Regions from separate parts of the Homo sapiens genome. Here all the other regions are linked to region 1. Evidence: promoter capture Hi-C in 16 types of primary human blood cells and fetal thymus (Javierre and others, 2016). All regions are on one chromosome and are shown on one strand. The core of a region is centred on a gene start or on the middle of the fragment in contact, and the rest is flanking DNA. Distances in the headings are between cores, read along the strand shown.

What was found. The method cuts DNA at HindIII sites, captures the fragments that hold promoters and counts their contacts. A CHiCAGO score of 5 or more calls a contact.
Region 2: a contact is called between a fragment that was not itself captured here and the fragment with the promoter of LRP2BP in region 1, in 1 of 17 cell types (non-activated CD4 T cells). The highest score is 7.0, in non-activated CD4 T cells.
Region 3: the fragment with the promoter of ING2 here is called in contact with the fragment with the promoter of LRP2BP in region 1 in 6 of 17 cell types (fetal thymus, monocytes, total B cells and 3 more); the score reaches 7.9 in fetal thymus.
Region 4: a fragment that was not itself captured here is called in contact with the fragment with the promoter of LRP2BP in region 1 in 2 of 17 cell types (monocytes and fetal thymus); the score reaches 6.9 in monocytes.
Region 5: a fragment that was not itself captured here is called in contact with the fragment with the promoter of LRP2BP in region 1 in 3 of 17 cell types (fetal thymus, total B cells and total CD4 T cells); the score reaches 7.3 in fetal thymus.

What each region holds. Positions count from the first base shown.
Region 1 is chr4:185,394,511-185,397,522 of GRCh38, forward strand. LRP2BP (LRP2 binding protein) reads right to left here and starts at 1,414. Exons shown (of 9, transcript NM_001377440.1): 1 at 269-1,414. It overlaps ANKRD37 (ankyrin repeat domain 37), which reads left to right and starts at 2,331. Exons shown (of 5, transcript NM_181726.4): 1 at 2,331-2,440; 2 at 2,640-2,792. The coding sequence starts at 2,414. RefSeq lists silencers at 1,537-1,726, 1,947-2,316 and an enhancer at 1,847-1,916. The HindIII fragment of the contact is 1,591 bases long and covers 896-2,486 here.
Region 2 is chr4:183,435,354-183,438,365 of GRCh38, forward strand. No RefSeq gene overlaps it. Among named protein-coding and RNA genes, the nearest start is that of CDKN2AIP, 7.8 kb to the right of the region's middle. RefSeq lists an enhancer at 2,644-3,012. The HindIII fragment of the contact is 8,424 bases long and covers 1-3,012 here.
Region 3 is chr4:183,503,296-183,506,307 of GRCh38, forward strand. ING2 (inhibitor of growth family member 2) reads left to right here and starts at 1,763. Exons shown (of 2, transcript NM_001564.4): 1 at 1,763-2,072. The coding sequence starts at 1,901. ING2-DT (ING2 divergent transcript) reads right to left here and starts at 1,220. Exons shown (of 3, transcript NR_033995.2): 1 at 881-1,220. RefSeq lists silencers at 845-1,884, 2,105-2,824. The HindIII fragment of the contact is 10,965 bases long and covers 1-3,012 here.
Region 4 is chr4:183,653,845-183,656,856 of GRCh38, forward strand. RWDD4 (RWD domain containing 4) reads right to left here. Exons shown (of 8, transcript NM_152682.4): 2 at 2,037-2,117. Among named protein-coding and RNA genes, the nearest start is that of RWDD4, 3.8 kb to the right of the region's middle. The HindIII fragment of the contact is 916 bases long and covers 936-1,851 here.
Region 5 is chr4:184,261,214-184,264,225 of GRCh38, forward strand. LOC105377582 (a long non-coding RNA gene) reads right to left here. Exons shown (of 6, transcript XR_939552.3): 6 at 1,416-1,592. Among named protein-coding and RNA genes, the nearest start is that of ENPP6, 45 kb to the left of the region's middle. The HindIII fragment of the contact is 3,740 bases long and covers 1-3,012 here.

The sequences.
Region 1 (3,012 bases), core at 164-2,663:
ACAAGTGCTCAATTAATGTCAATTTGTAATATAATAAACTGGAATAGACGTTAGTGGTTAATACTTTCTCATTTGTCGGCCTTTCTCTATTTCACATCACAGCTGCATGTGTATCACACACTGCCCCCAGACTGAACTACATATAGTGCTCTCAATACTGGAAGATATTTTACACTTCTTAGAAATACTCTTCCCTTCCTGGACTCCTTAGCAAACTCTTACTACTCAAGATTCAGCCCACACATCTCTCATCTATTCGGTCACTTACTCATCATCCAACGTTTTTTTTAACACTCGCTGTAAATGGCATCCTCGTTCTGGAAACGCATCTACCAGCAATTAAAACATGTAGAATTAGCACTGCTTAGGAGAACGCCTATAAAATATGCATCTTAGATCATCTTCCGTTTTAGAAAATTGATCCCACCTGCTACACGCCTGGTGAAACTCCAGTTACTTGCCAGTAAGATATTGTCCCCCAAATGTACTTATCCTGTTTTTGTGCATTATAAGCTTTGTTCAGTTTATAGTTTCTAGGCCCATTACTAAAGTCAAGTCAGATATCCAGCTGAGATACAACTTTTTTTTCTGAAAACAATGTGAGCAATGGACAGGTACGCTGTGATTAAAGGGAGAAAAGCTGTAACGACTCCCCAAATTTCCTTTCCTTATGAAATTTACGTATGTAACAGGAAGTTAAAAAATAACTACCACTTAATGCATACTGAACAGAATCTTGTTTCAAAGAAAAGATATGAAATATGGAGGCACTTTCACCACACAAATATCCCACTACATATGCTAACTGCAGTATTTATGTTCAAAACTGTAAGAACGTGTCTGATACCCTTTATTAGTTAGGAATTCCTGAAAATGAACTTCTGTGCAAACCTGAAGCTTCAACACGTGTTTTAAAAAGCAGTGCTTATTGAATTGATAAACAAAAGCGAAACTGGCAATATCAACGTGTGCTCACCTCACAAATCTGACAACAGTATCTCTACACTGCCGTTCTTTAAACATCATTAAAAGATATTGTGAATAGTTTAAATATTAAAAATGTGGAATATAAGAACGATTCTATATATTTGAACACACATTTATATTCAAATATTCATATGAATAAAAATGCTTAAAACTACCCCTTGGGTAACTAAGTATAACAACATAAACTTGCGATTGCAAATTTTATGGCTCTTACTACAAAACAAAAAGTAGAATGAAAAGACCACTTATCTTTAGAGGACAAGCATGAACTTGTTTTCTAACAGCATAACAATAAACGTATTTATTTCTCCGAGCTTTCAAAGGCATCAACAGAAGGGAATCACTAAAAATGTAGGGGAAAAGAAACACTCGGCTGGAGCTTTGGTTTCTAAGCAGATCCTTCTGGAAAGACGCTTAGGGAGAGTCTAGGGAGCAGCTCTGACGTCAGTAGCTGCCATCGGAAGTCAGGTCATGTTCTACAAAAAGCAGTGACGCACGCCCGACAGCACCCGCGGGGCCGGACAGCGGCTTCACCAGCCCCGCGGGTCCGAATCGCACGCGGCCGGGTCCGCTCTCCCGGGAGGAGAGCCCGGCGTGGACCAGCGTGACGACCCCAGCGTGCTGCGGCCTCTCCCCGAGGGCCCCTCCACAAGGGTCCCTGCGCGGGCCGGGCTCGGCCGTTGCCACTCGGGACAGCCATCCCCTCGAGTTCGCGCTCGCCGTCCCCGCCTTCACCTCCCGGGTTGGGAGGCGGGCGACTGCGCGCGAGGTAAAGGAACTTGCGTTCCCCGGCGCCGAGGCGGCAGCAGCGCAGTGCACAGCGGCTTCTGAAGGCGGCGTCGACGGGGAGCTGCGCGTGGCTCCCAGTTTCCTGGTTACGTGCGCGCCGGCAGAGCCAAAACCTGCAGCCGAAACTCCCGCTTCTCCGTAAGGATTAAAGGGCGGGCGCACTACCGGGAGACGTGTCAAACTCAGCGCGCCTCATGGCGGCCGCGGAGCCCCACCCGCTCCTACTCCAGTCCTCTCACGCCCACTGACTTACCCTGCGCACGCGCGCTGAGGCTCCGTGGGGCCGCCGCGGGCCCCGCCCCGAGGTGGGAGGGCCTGACGCATCCACAGCTGGCCAATCGGCGGATGGCCTCGCGCGCCCGCCCCCTCCCCCTGCCCCCGGCGCCGGGCTCCACGTGCCAGTGTTTGTGTACGTGCGGCCGTGGCGGGGCTGGACAGGGTCCGGGTCGTTGAGGATTAGGCTGCTCGGGCGTAACCGGAGCTGGGGCGCGGCTGCCAAGGGCCGGCCCGGAAGTCCCAGCGGTCTTTAAATTCTCCCGTGCTAGGGCCAGCCTGCGCATTCTTACCTGTCGGGGTGCGGCGAGTGTCTCACCTCTCTGCACTTCCAAGGACTCTTGTCATCTGCCTTAGGCGGGAAATGCTGTTGCTGGATTGCAACCCCGAGGTGAGATTCGGGCTCACAGAGCCCGAGCTTTTGTCCTGCAGGCTCAAGCTTCTAGATTCGTCTTCTCGTTAATGCGGGGACGGACCACTGGGCGCTGCCTGGTCAGAGCTGGTTGTGAAGGGCGGGGAGGTTTCCAGCCCGGAGGGGCGCGGGACTGGACAAAGGTGGGAAGGGTGCTGGATCTGTTCTCTTCCTGCAGGTGGATGGTCTGAAGCATTTGCTGGAGACAGGGGCCTCGGTCAACGCACCCCCGGATCCCTGCAAGCAGTCGCCTGTCCACTTAGCCGCAGGAAGCGGCCTTGCTTGCTTTCTTCTCTGGCAGCTGCAAACGGGCGCTGACCTCAACCAGCAGGTAACTAGGTAACTGTTGCTGTGTACAGCCGTCCCCTCCAACCCAGACACACACAAACATTTCTCAGACGCCAAGAGTTGTTTCAGCTGTTAAAAACATGTCTATAGCAGCGATGTCCAACAGAAATATAATGCAAGACACAGATGTAATTTAAGAGTTTTTTTCCAGTCTTGATGTGAGGACATGAGAAATTTGAAGTTTTTAAGTAGCCACATTAATA
Region 2 (3,012 bases), core at 364-2,863, 2.0 Mb before region 1:
CTTTTCTTCGCCTTTGCTTCATTTCTCCCCCATTATATTTTATAACCTTGGCCTCATCGGTGCAGTCCTTGGTAGGGAGCTAATCATAAGATCTTTGCAGGAATGACTACATTGATCCATGTATTGGTTTTTTTGTGTTTTTGTTTTGTTTTGTTTTGTTTTAGATGGAGCCTTGCTCTGTCACCCAGGCTGGAGTGCAGTGGTGTGATCTTGGCTCTCCTCTACCTCCGCCTCCCGGGTTCAAGCAATTCTCCTGTCTCAGCCTCCCAAGTAGCTGGGATTAGAGGCACATGCCACCACACCCACTAATTTTTGTATTTTTAGTAGAGATGGGGTTTCACCGTATTGGTCAGGCTGGTTTTGAACTCCTGACCTCAGGTGATCCGCCTGCCTCGGCCTCCCAAAGTGCTGGGATTACAGGAGTGACCCACCGTGCCCGGCCTGATCCACATATTCTTTATTAGCTTGCAAATTTTCCACAAGGCTGCTCTATCTATTCTATAAGGTTAAAGAAATTGCTTATGAAAAATTAAAAATCAGCCTGTAGTATTAATACCTAAGGGGGCTTTGGCAGATATGGCTAAGGATGCTCCTTCCCTCATTTCCTCAGGGGATTCCGGGGGCGGCTCTAACCTTTAAAACTGCCTCTGCCTGCTTCTGCCTCTGCTCGAGGCGTGGGAGTTCTATGGCCATTGCCTTTTACAAGATGCAGCAGAGAAGAGAAGGCAGGAGAAGCAATGCCCTGGCTTTTATGGGCATAATAACAGGTTTCGGAGGACAAATGAAGACCCAGGCTACCTCATATCCAGATAAGAAATTATCCAATGGAAAGGAAAACTTGAAGGGTGAGGAGGGAAGCTAGGGAATTCGACTGCTGGTATGGTTCCCAGAAGAGAGGCCCCTTGTCCTGCCTACCTGTACCTCCAAGGCCGAATTGCAACTGGCCAGCGGGGACGCGGCGGTGGGGTGGGGCGGGGGGGGGGGGGCGGGTGGTGCGGGGAGAAAGGGAAGCAGAGAGGTGGGGAAGGATGATGGCAATTTTAAAAGGTTTGGGGGACCCATGAGTAAGGTGGCCATGCCCATTCCCAGCAGAAGCCAGCGAAGCTGCAAGATCTGGAGCATCCATCCCTTCTCCCTGGCACGGCACAGAGGAGTAGACTAGAAATGACAGTGTGCCATGTGTGGGCAAGTGGACTGAGAGGGCCTCAGAGAGAACCTGTGCTCCCCAGCACAGTGCAGTAGGCGATGGAATGTTCACCCGTGCCTGAGAGGGGCATGAGCACAGCAGGGAGAGTCACCTGACCTAAAGAGGCGCTGCTACAGGGATGAGGAGGAAGCAGCAGTGGCCTTTGTGGGCCAAAACCTGGTGGGAAGATGGCTATTTCAGGGGATGCCTGGGAGCGCCTCACCTTGTCCCTGACCCTGCCTTTGTGCCTCAGCACTGTGTCAGCTCCCTGGAATGGATACTCAAATTCGTACAGAAGGAAGTAAAATCTTCAGGTGACTGAAATTAAGTTTCCACCATTTGGTAGGATGGGACCTTAAAATAGAAAACAAATTTAGGCCGGGCGCCGTGGCTCACTCCTGTAATCCCAGCACTTTGGGAGGCCGAGGTGGGTGGATCACCTGAGTTCAGGAGTTTGACACCAGCCTGGCCAATGTGGTGAAACCCTGTTCTCTACTAAAAATACAAAAAATCAGCCGGGCATGGTGGTGTGCACTTGTAATCCCAGCTACCAGGGAGGCTGAGGCAGGAGAATTGCTTGAACCCAGGAGGCAGAGGTTGCAGTGAGCCGAGATTGTGACACTGCACTCCAGGCTAGCGAGAGAGCAAGACTCTGTCTCAAAAAAAAAAAAAAAAAAAGAAAAGAACAAAAATTTAATCAGAGGAAAATACTGTAGCTACATTTGTTTACACACCTTGAAATTATGGACAGAGATTTGTACCTACCATACTCAGAATTTATTTGAAAAAAAATGTTCTCTGCATAAACAACAAACAATTATTAAACTTTGTCAATATTACCAAATAAAACCTAAAATGTTTCTAAAGTTCATTAATTGGATTTAAACTATGTGCCTTTATAGACATCATCTCGTTTATTTCTTATGATTCATAGGTGCTGGTATCCCCTTTTACAGGTAAGGAAACGAAGACTTAGAAAAGTGAAATAATTTGCCCATGGACACAATGATGGTAATTAGCAGAACCAGAATTCCAACTCAGGAATGTCTGACTCCCAAGTCTATATTTTTGATCACTAAATTAAGCTCTATGCTGTTCTTTCCTCTGGCTTTCTAGATCCCTCCAGGAACATTCCTTTCTGCTTCCTTGGCTGCTCACATTTACAAGGCAATCACACATTGATGAACTGGAGCCCTGGGTACAAAGAAGCACAATTTTTTTTTTATCCTTCCTGCTCCTAATTCCCAAAGGGCCCAACAATTAAGTGGATTATTGTGGTCATAATCTTAGTTTTTTGATTTAACAAGTCTTTTTTTTTTTTTCTTTTGAGATACAATCTCACTCTGTTGCCCAGGCTGGAGTGCAGTGGCGCGATCTCAGCTCACTGCAATCTCCGCCTCCTGGGTTCAAGCAATTCTCCTGCTTCAGCCTCCTGAGTAGCTGGGATTACAGGTGCGCACGACTATGCCTGGCTAATTTTTGTATTTTTAGTAAAGACGGGGTTTCACCATGTTGGTCAAGCTGGTCTCAAACTCCTGACCTCTGATCTGCCTGCCTTGGCCTCTCAGAGTGTTGGGATTACAGGCGTAAGCCACTGTACCTGGCCTGGATTTAACAAGTCTTAGCTCAGTTCTTATTTATCTTTCAGTCACCACACCTTGTGAGTTAATCATTGGACAATAATCAGCTTGGACAGTAAGTTAACCACTCTGAACCTAGGTTTCTTTGTCTACGAAATAAATGCAATCTCTAAGGTCCTCCTCCAGCTTAAATTTTCCATGATTCTGAAGAATCAGGATCAAGTTTATTGGTTTATGGGAAGTTGA
Region 3 (3,012 bases), core at 513-3,012, 1.9 Mb before region 1:
TTTCACGAACAGTAAAATCCCAGAATGTTCTCAGAAATACTATCCACTGTACTGTCTGGGTTGCTTAATACTGGCCCAAACCTCAGTGTCCTAGGATAATAACCCAAGACAATTTCCCAGTCCTTTGAAATAGTTGACGTCCCAAGATGTCAAATTGCCTGGAGTGCTTTATTTTGGTTTGAAATTTAAAATTTCCTCTAGATAAAGATCTAGATTTCTCTTTGCAAGTCAAAGGCTAGTTACTATTAACAGCTGTTTCAAAAGTGCTCTAAATAGGTCACCATTCAGGTGTACCAACGCTGCAAACTGGATCTAAGAAGATCCAAATTTGTCACCACTCACTCACATTTTAACTCAAAGGTAGTACTCACAATTGGCCTTGTTTACATAGGCATTCCATTAAAATTATCCATGCATTCATTCTATTTGCACCCATTTCTTTCAAAAATGTCCATCTGTAATTAAAATCAGCTCCTCTGCCTGACATCTCATTTACACTACACCGAAATTAAACCCCACTAGGAGATCACGTAGATTATGGGGCCGAGGGCCCGCCCGCTGACTAGGTTTTCACTCGCGTCTCCTCCATGCCCCAGGTCCCCTCCGATTGCAGTCCTGGGGCAGGACTGAGCAAAAAGTCCCGTAAAGCTGGCGTGTGCCCCACTCCGCCAGGAAGCCTCACCGACGTCCTGTGCTTAAATGTTCTGACACCCCCCAAAAGCAGTTGTTTTTAAAGGCTGTCTGTGGGACCAATGCGTTGTCAAACAGATGCCGTCCCGCATCCCCTCCCCCTAAATGACACAGAAGATTCCAGCGTAGGGGAAGGGCCACGAAACCCGCAGGGCACACGACGCCGGGGGCCGGAGGGAGCACCGCCTACCTCCCTGATCAAGCCCCGCGGTGCCGGGCGAGCCCGAGGGCCCGGCAGGAGGCGGGCGGCAGCCCCAGGCGAGCTCGGAGGCGGCGGGAACGCAGCCGCCGCGCATGCCGGGAGCCGCACGCCGCCCGCCGGGGCGCGCAGTCCCGCAGGCCTCGCTCCAGGTCGTCCGAAAAGGAACCGCCTGCTGCTCCTTTGCAGGCTCGCGAGGAGCCGCACTCGGACCGCCTGATGGGGAAAAAGCCGGTGTGGCCGGGCGGAGCGAGCCGAGCGGAGCTGGAGCTGCCCCTCCCAGCGGGGAGGACGGCACGAAGGACCGAGCCGCCTCCCCTCCCGGGTCCCATTCAGACGCGAGGCGCAGAGACTGGCTCCCCGGGCTTCCCCTTTAAGGGGGGCGGGGCGCGGCCTGCCGTTTGGCCGCCCCCCACACCCTCCCCCGCTAGCCCAGAGCCGGCAGACCAATCGCCCGGGCGGCGGAGCGAAGGCGGGAGAATGCGAACCCTCCGGTAGGCGGTAGGGGCGGGCCCCGGCCTTATTCGCAGGGAGCGCTGCGCAGGCGCAGAGGCGGCCGCGGGCGGAGGGGCGGGGGCAGGCTAGCGGGAGGCTCTCCGTGAGGCACGGAGGGTGACTGGGGACAGGCGGGCGGCGACGGGCTTGTCATGGGGATCCGGGCTGCGAGACGGCACTCGTAGCATCTGGGGACTCCGAGGGGGACAGGAAGTGTCAGCGCCCGGGACCCCGGCGCCGGCCCCGCCGAGGGGATCCCCACTGCTCCGGTCCTGGAGCGGGAGGGGAGAAAGGAGGGAGCCCCGGTTTCGCCCCGCCCCTGGGCTGGTGCTGCGGGGGCGGGGAGTGAGGGCTGCTCTGGGGGGAGTGGAGATCGGGGAGCGCGGCCGTGCCCTCTCGAGCGGCTGCGGGGTCCCCGCGGCGCCGGGCTGCTGAGCTGAGGGCCCGCGGCGGCCGCGGCCGGTGCATGTGCGGCTGCTGGATGCGGAGGCGGCGGCGACGGCGCGGATCGGCAGGATGTTAGGGCAGCAGCAGCAGCAACTGTACTCGTCGGCCGCGCTCCTGACCGGGGAGCGGAGCCGGCTGCTCACCTGCTACGTGCAGGACTACCTTGAGTGCGTGGAGTCGCTGCCCCACGACATGCAGAGGAACGTGTCTGTGCTGCGAGAGCTGGACAACAAATATCAAGGTAGGAGCCGCGGGGCTGCCGGCCTCGGGAGCCGGTGGCGGGGAGCCTGTCCGGGGGAGTGCCACCTTCCCTTTCTCCCGTGACAGTCTCCCCGAGCGCACCGAGGGTCTGCCGAGCGGGACTGGGAGGACTGGAGACCGGGTTGGCGGCCCTCCGTGGCCCCGCGGTGGGCGAGTACTTCTCTGGGGTCCCCAGAGTGGGGGTGGGGGCCGCTTGTCAGCCCCCGCTGCAGACCCAGCGGCTGCAGCTGCCGCTGAGGGGAATCAGCCATTTTAAGCAGCAAGCATTTGTTCAGGCGCTGGCCCGCCCCGTGCCGCAGACCCTGCGGCCCCGGCCCGGGACTGCAGCCGGGCAAGGGTCGGAGGGAGTGAGCGGCCGGGCTCCCGCTGGTCTGCGGGGCGCGCTTCCCCACCTCACTCGCCCCCACCCCGGAGTGCGGGTGCTTTGGAACGTGCGGGGGGAGGGGGCGAGAGGCCGCGGAGGCGGACTGAGGGGGCCTTCCTCCGCGCTCCTGCCCCGGCCCGGAGGAGAGCAGTCCGTTCCGCTCTCTCGCCCCGGGAAAGTTCGCGGGCGCCCCGCGTTGTAGCCCTAGCCCAGTTCTTTCGGCAAAATGGTTAAGAGGGGAGGGGTCCCCCGCGGGAGAGGAAGAGAGGGGCGTGTGTGGCGGGGAGGGCCCCCGCGCCGGGGGCGGGGCCTGCGGGCTTGACGAGGGGCGTGGGAGGGGCGCGGCGCGCGTTCCCGCGGGCCTGGAAAATGGCTGGTCGCGAGAGGGGCGGTGGCGAGCTGGCTGCTGGGGAGGGAGTCGGGGCTGTGCGGGGGCGTTGGTTCGGCCCCAGCGGAGTCCGAATCGGGGTTTGCAGCATGTTTTGCGGTGATGTTTCCAACCTCTTTCCCAGTCAATGGATCAGGACGGCGATCAGCAGCTCGGACCGTCGCGGAT
Region 4 (3,012 bases), core at 144-2,643, 1.7 Mb before region 1:
GATAGAGACAAGGCTATTCCTGTCTTCAGACAGATATTTATATAACTTACAAAACTGCAATATGAATAATAGTTCAAAAGTAACAAAACAAAGTATGAAGAAATGGGGAACGGCTAATTCTGATTCAAAGTCAGAGCAGAGACAGGAGACATGGCCCAAATATTAATGTATCACAGAGAAGGCCTGAGTTAGGCCTTAAAGGAGAGGCAGGGGAATAATGGACCTGAGGTGAGAGAAAGATCAAACAATGTGTGCAAAAGCATAGTACTAGAAAAAAATACACGGGGGGAAATGTCACAACCCATTATGTCTAAGGCATGTGAGTGGAGGGGAAAGTTTGGAGACAGAAACAAACAGAAGGATTTGGAGTGTCAAGTGAAAAAATTTCGTCCTCATTTTATAGGCAAGAGGAACCCAGAGAAAAACATTTTTAAAGAAGAGAATGGGATGACAACTTAAATGCTTCAGAGTGCCAACTAGTACTGTTGGAGGACTCATGGTGGAGTATAAGGGGGAAGCTAAAGAAAGTATTAAACCGGGGAAGTCAACTAGGAGGCTACCAGACTATTCCGTGCAAGAACTGAGGGGTGTGACTCAGGCCACAGGAAGAACTTTACCCCTGGCCCTTTGACTATCAACACACTGTCTCCTAATCTCATGTATCATTCTTCTTAAATCCATCCTATGGGTCACGTCAGTGTCCATCTTATAGTACATATAAATGTCCTAGGGCATTCTGCACAACATGCTCTAAATCACTGCCATTGTGAATGAGATATTTAGGAGAGTATAGGGAAATTCTCGACCTCCCATTTGCTAAGGAGAGAGTAGCAACTGGATTCAAACCGAAGGGCCTAGGACTTAGCTCCACTGTTAACTTTGGACATTTGAGGTCCATGGTTATTACATACTTGGAGATGGTGTAAGGACTGTTAAGCTTGAAAGGGAATTGAGAACAGAAACTTATTTTCTGTGATGGTCATCCATCGATCATGCATAAGAATCATTTCTAATAGTTTAAACTGTGACAATGTTAATAATAACTGTAAATCTTTTACAAAAAAAACTTCCCCATTCCGCTACTTATAATTATTTGTGTGTTTTTTTTGTTTTTTTTTTTGAGTCCCGCTCTGTCGCCCAGACTGGAGTGCAGTGGCACAATCTCTGCTCACTGGAACCTCCGCCTCCTGGGTTCAAGTGATTCTCCTGCCTCAGCCTCCCAAGTAGCTGGGACTACAGGCATGCACCATCATGCGTGGCTAATTTTTGTATTTTTAGTAGAGACAGGGTTTCACCTTGTTGGCCAGGCTGGTCTAGAACTCCAGACTTGAGGTGATCCGCCTGCCTCGGCCTCTCAAAGTTCTGGGATTAAAGGTGTGAGCCACTGTGCCCCGCCTACTTATAATCATTTGAATAAAAGGTTTATATGACTTATTTACAAAATAAAATACTGTTACTATTTTTTTTTTGAGACAGAGTCTCGCTCTGTCGCAGTGGCTTGATCTCGGCTCACTGCAAGCTCTGCCTCCCGGGTTCACGCCATTCTCCTGCCTCAGCCTCCCGAGTAGCTGGGACTACAGGCGCCCGCCACCATGCCCGGCTAATTTTTTGTATTTTTAGTAGAGACAGTGGGGTTTCACCATGTTGGCCAGGATGGTCTCGATCTCCTGACCTCGTGATCCGCCCACCTTGGCCTCCCAAAGTGCTGGGATTACAGGTGAGAGCCACCGCGCCCAGCCCTACTGTTACTATTTTATGTTAAAGATAAGATTAAATAATTTTTAAGGTTTTTTCCATTTCTAGTATCTTATGATTCTGGTACAATAAAAACAAGTTTATCTTGGTTTTTTAAGCTTCTGAATTAAGTTTTCAAACGTTAAAAATGACTGATGTTAGGGTGATGTTTCCATTTAAATGCTACAGAAAATACAGACATAATAAATTTAAACAAGTTTAAAAAACAAAATAAGCATTTTTAGCCACTTTCAGTCTTTTCTAGAAAAGTTCTAAGTGCTCTTATTCATGCCATGTCTTACCCTATATTGAAAAGAAACTGGACTTAATTCCCGGAAACTTTCATCTCCTTCATAAATAGAGCGTAATGCTTCTAGTTCCATCTGAAATAAAGAACTGAATGAGTTTTGTTTAGTGGTATAAATGAATTAGAAATAGAGGGTCTTTACTTTCTCATTCAAGCCCACTCAACTATGTAAAAGCTTGACTAACTTATATAACCTTAGATACTTACCACATAGGTGCATGCAGCAACACATGACAATATTACTACCAATGATACTTACTTTCAAACTCTGTGTCAGGGACTACTAAGCACTGTACAATGTATGATCGCGCTGACTTCTCAAATCAACCCTGTCAAGAGGCTCCTATTATTTTCTCCTTCCTAGGGAAGCAAGGAAGTCTCCCTGTAAAGCCACTCCAGAGCAAGCGCTCTTAGAACTTGGCTAAAGACGAACCTGGGTGCAAAGAGCATTAAACCTAAAGATAAGAACTATGAAAAACAATACTTTCCCATTATTTACATACATTTCTTTTATATGTAATCCTTCCCACAGTGATACAAAGCTCTAAAAAACACCTAAGGGCAAGAAAAAGAACTTAAGAAAAAGGCTGACAAGTATCTACCCAAGATGAGACAGGACTGTCAGAGAAAATGTAACTAGTAATCCTTGCTTGGACATAGTTCTTAGAACATTTTGGTATTACAACTGAGAAGTTCATCACTGTGATCACCGATGAATACCTGAGAAAAGAAGTAAAGCAAGACTGCACTTGGGTACACGTTTAAGTTTTTCAAAAAGATGCATGTCATGAATTCTACAAACTAAAGATGGTGAAAGTGGGCTTGATCTACAGTCAAAATTTTAGAATAGAAATTATTGGCTGGGCGCGGTGGCTCACATCTGTAATCCCAGCACTTTGGGAGGCCGAGGCGGGCGGATCACCTGAGGTCAGGAGTTCGAGGTCAGCCTGGCCAACACGGTGAAACCCCAT
Region 5 (3,012 bases), core at 185-2,684, 1.1 Mb before region 1:
AGCAACTTTTTGTTGAGCACGCCCTTTGTATCAGGCATGGTCCTAGGCTCAGGGGATGCCTGACCTTGTAAAGTTCCAAGTGAGTAGCTCTCGAAAAACCACAAATATGTAGATTTTTATGTAAATCAATACTCAGTGTCAGCATCTAATTTCTGAGTGCTCAGATGTAATAATACTCTCCTGCAAGTTGTAAAACAAACTGGTTGGTGAGGCAATAAGGAGGTGCCCCGGTGTGTAAGAGGAAAGGACCCAGCTCCTTTCCTCTTCTGCAGAGGAAGAGGTGCAGAGCTTCTGCTTGCACAAGTCCGCGTTCAATAACACAAAGCAATAGGAGAGGCAAGATTCTGAGGAGGATTCTGAAAACACCATGCATTACACAAAAATGTGAAGCAAAAGATTGCATACATTTGGGTGGATGGTGGGAAGGGGGCGTTTGCTTGCTTGCTTTTATCTTAATTCTCCTTCCAAAATGGAATGTTTTCAGTCTTTGCTTGACTACAGCTGCTCACAGAAAACTTAGGACCAGTTACTTTTTTTTTGAGATGGAGTCTTGCTCTGTCACCAGTGCTGGGTGCAGCAGCACCATCTCAGCTCACTGCAGCCTCTGCTTCCTGGGTTCAACTGATTCTCGTGCCTTGGCCTCCCAAGTAGCTGGGATTACAGGCGTGCGCCACCACACCTGGCTAATTTTTGTATTTTTAGTAGAGATGGGGTTTCACCATGTTGGCCAGGCCGGTCTGGAACTCCTGTCCACAAGTGATCTGCCCGCCTCAGCCTCCCAAAGTGCTGGGATTACAGGCGTGAGCCACCACACCTAGCCCAGTTATTTCCTTTAATTAACAACATAATATTGATGGTCCATAACAAGCCAATAAAAGCAAAAAGACGCCTTGACATTCCACAGATCATAGCTCAATTTGAAACGAATGAAAAACATTTAAATGTAAATTAATTTGGTATGTTTGTAATTATTGTCTAAATAGATGAACAAGCCATATTTTACATATATTTCTAATCAATCAAATGACTACAAGAGAAATGACTACAAGAAAGTCTCTTACCTACTTTTGGGGAGGTTTTTTTTCAAGTACAGTAAGTCCTCACCTAACATCATGAATAGGTTCTTGGAAACTGCGACTGGCAAAAGTACGAATATAGACAAGATTTACGTACAGGTATGTTCATCCTGTGCTATCCGTTATAGAAGAAATATTGGTTATAAAATTATGTTTGTCAATAGATTTAAATATTAGGAAACCATTAAATGTCATGTTTTCAAATGGTAATATCTAGGGACTATACAATATAACGTTTACAAAAATAAACAGGACACAAAACTGTGTTTATAATACAATAAATAAAATGTGTTCTATGTAAGATATATAATGTATTTATTATATATAGTATTTGATTAATATATAGTATATTATTTATATATTATAAATACATACACATATATAGAAAAAAGCTGGAGGGAAATACACTCAAAATACTAACAGTAGTTTTCTCTAGGTGGCGGGATTATCAGTGATTTTTATATTCTTCCGATTGCTTTTTCTATTTTATCGGTTTTTCCACACGAGCCTGAAGATCTGCCAAAAAGGAAAGAATATGTTGGCCAGGCTGACCCAAGTTTTGTGGTTTCTGTGACAATTATACTTCTAATTCTAAAATAATAAACTGACATCATTTTTAACATCTTAGATATTTTATTGCAATAAGTAATATATTCATAATGAAAAATTTGGCAAGTACAGAAAAGTCAGAAGAATTAGGGAGAGAGCTGTGCAAATTTCCACCAGTCAGAAGGAAAGGCTGATACTGACATCCCACAGTTGTCTGAGTCATGGGGTATGTTTGCCATGGAAGTGCCTCATGAGCTGCCACTGGGGAGCCTGAGGACTGGCTGGGTCATGCAGTCTGGGTGAGATGCTGCAACAGAAACCACCCCCCACTACCAACCAACTTGAATCAATCCCCTTGTACATCATTAGAGTTTCACATAACAGTGCACCTGAAGAAAGGCTCCATCCATGGCAAAACAACAACAAAAAAAGCAACCCTTGGTTACCACCATCTTAAGCCTCTTCCCTAAAGCTAAGCATTTAGGTTGCTTCCAGTTTTTCTAACCACAGACTGGAAGCCAGAATAAATGTCTCTGTATAGTCATCTTTGCTCACATTCTGCCTCTGTGATGGAAATTTCAAGAAAAAAGTAACCATCATTTTCAAAGCTCTTGATATTTTCAAACTGCCCACACAAAAATCAACCTGTTTACCTCCCATCAACTTGCCCATCTAACCAAACCCTGCATGCATTGAGCACAATGTAAAACAATCTTTAATCTGATCGATTTAAAATGGAGTCCCTTGTTGTGCCTGTCACATTTTAAGGAATGTGTGTCCCTTGGGGATCTCTTCCAAGAACCCTTCCGCCAGTACAAGCTGCCATCCCGCCAGCCCCTATGTAGAGGACATGGCACCTTCCCACTAAAATGATGCTGGAGTTCTCCAAGTGGACTTGGGCTTGGATTTTCTTCTCACTAGGCTCCCAGGCAACCACATGATTGAACTCGCAGAAGGCCAGGCTGTGGAATAAGCTCCCAGGAAAAATGGCAGAAGCCAGGGTCTAACATACCCCGCTTCCCAAATACTCTAGAGCTAGACTCTGAGAATGGGAAGGCGTCCTGGAGAGCAATCATCTTTGAGGCCTTTGGCTACATAAATTACGGCTTTGACCCCTGGACCGGAAATAACTCTACCAGTTAATGATACAGCCGGGACCCAAACCTGGTGTCCTGGGAGTCTTAGCCCGGTGACTTCCCCACTACTGGCCTCCAACCCTGGCATGACGTCAAACGCAGCAGAAGTGAGTCCTGACCCATCACCCTTCTGTCTGATCACAGACCCTCCACGTAGGGTCCGTCAACATCATCGATATCTAATAACAATAAACAAGGCTTCTTGACCGAGGGGGCGAGCGGGGACTGAAATCTTCCTCAAAGACAGGGCC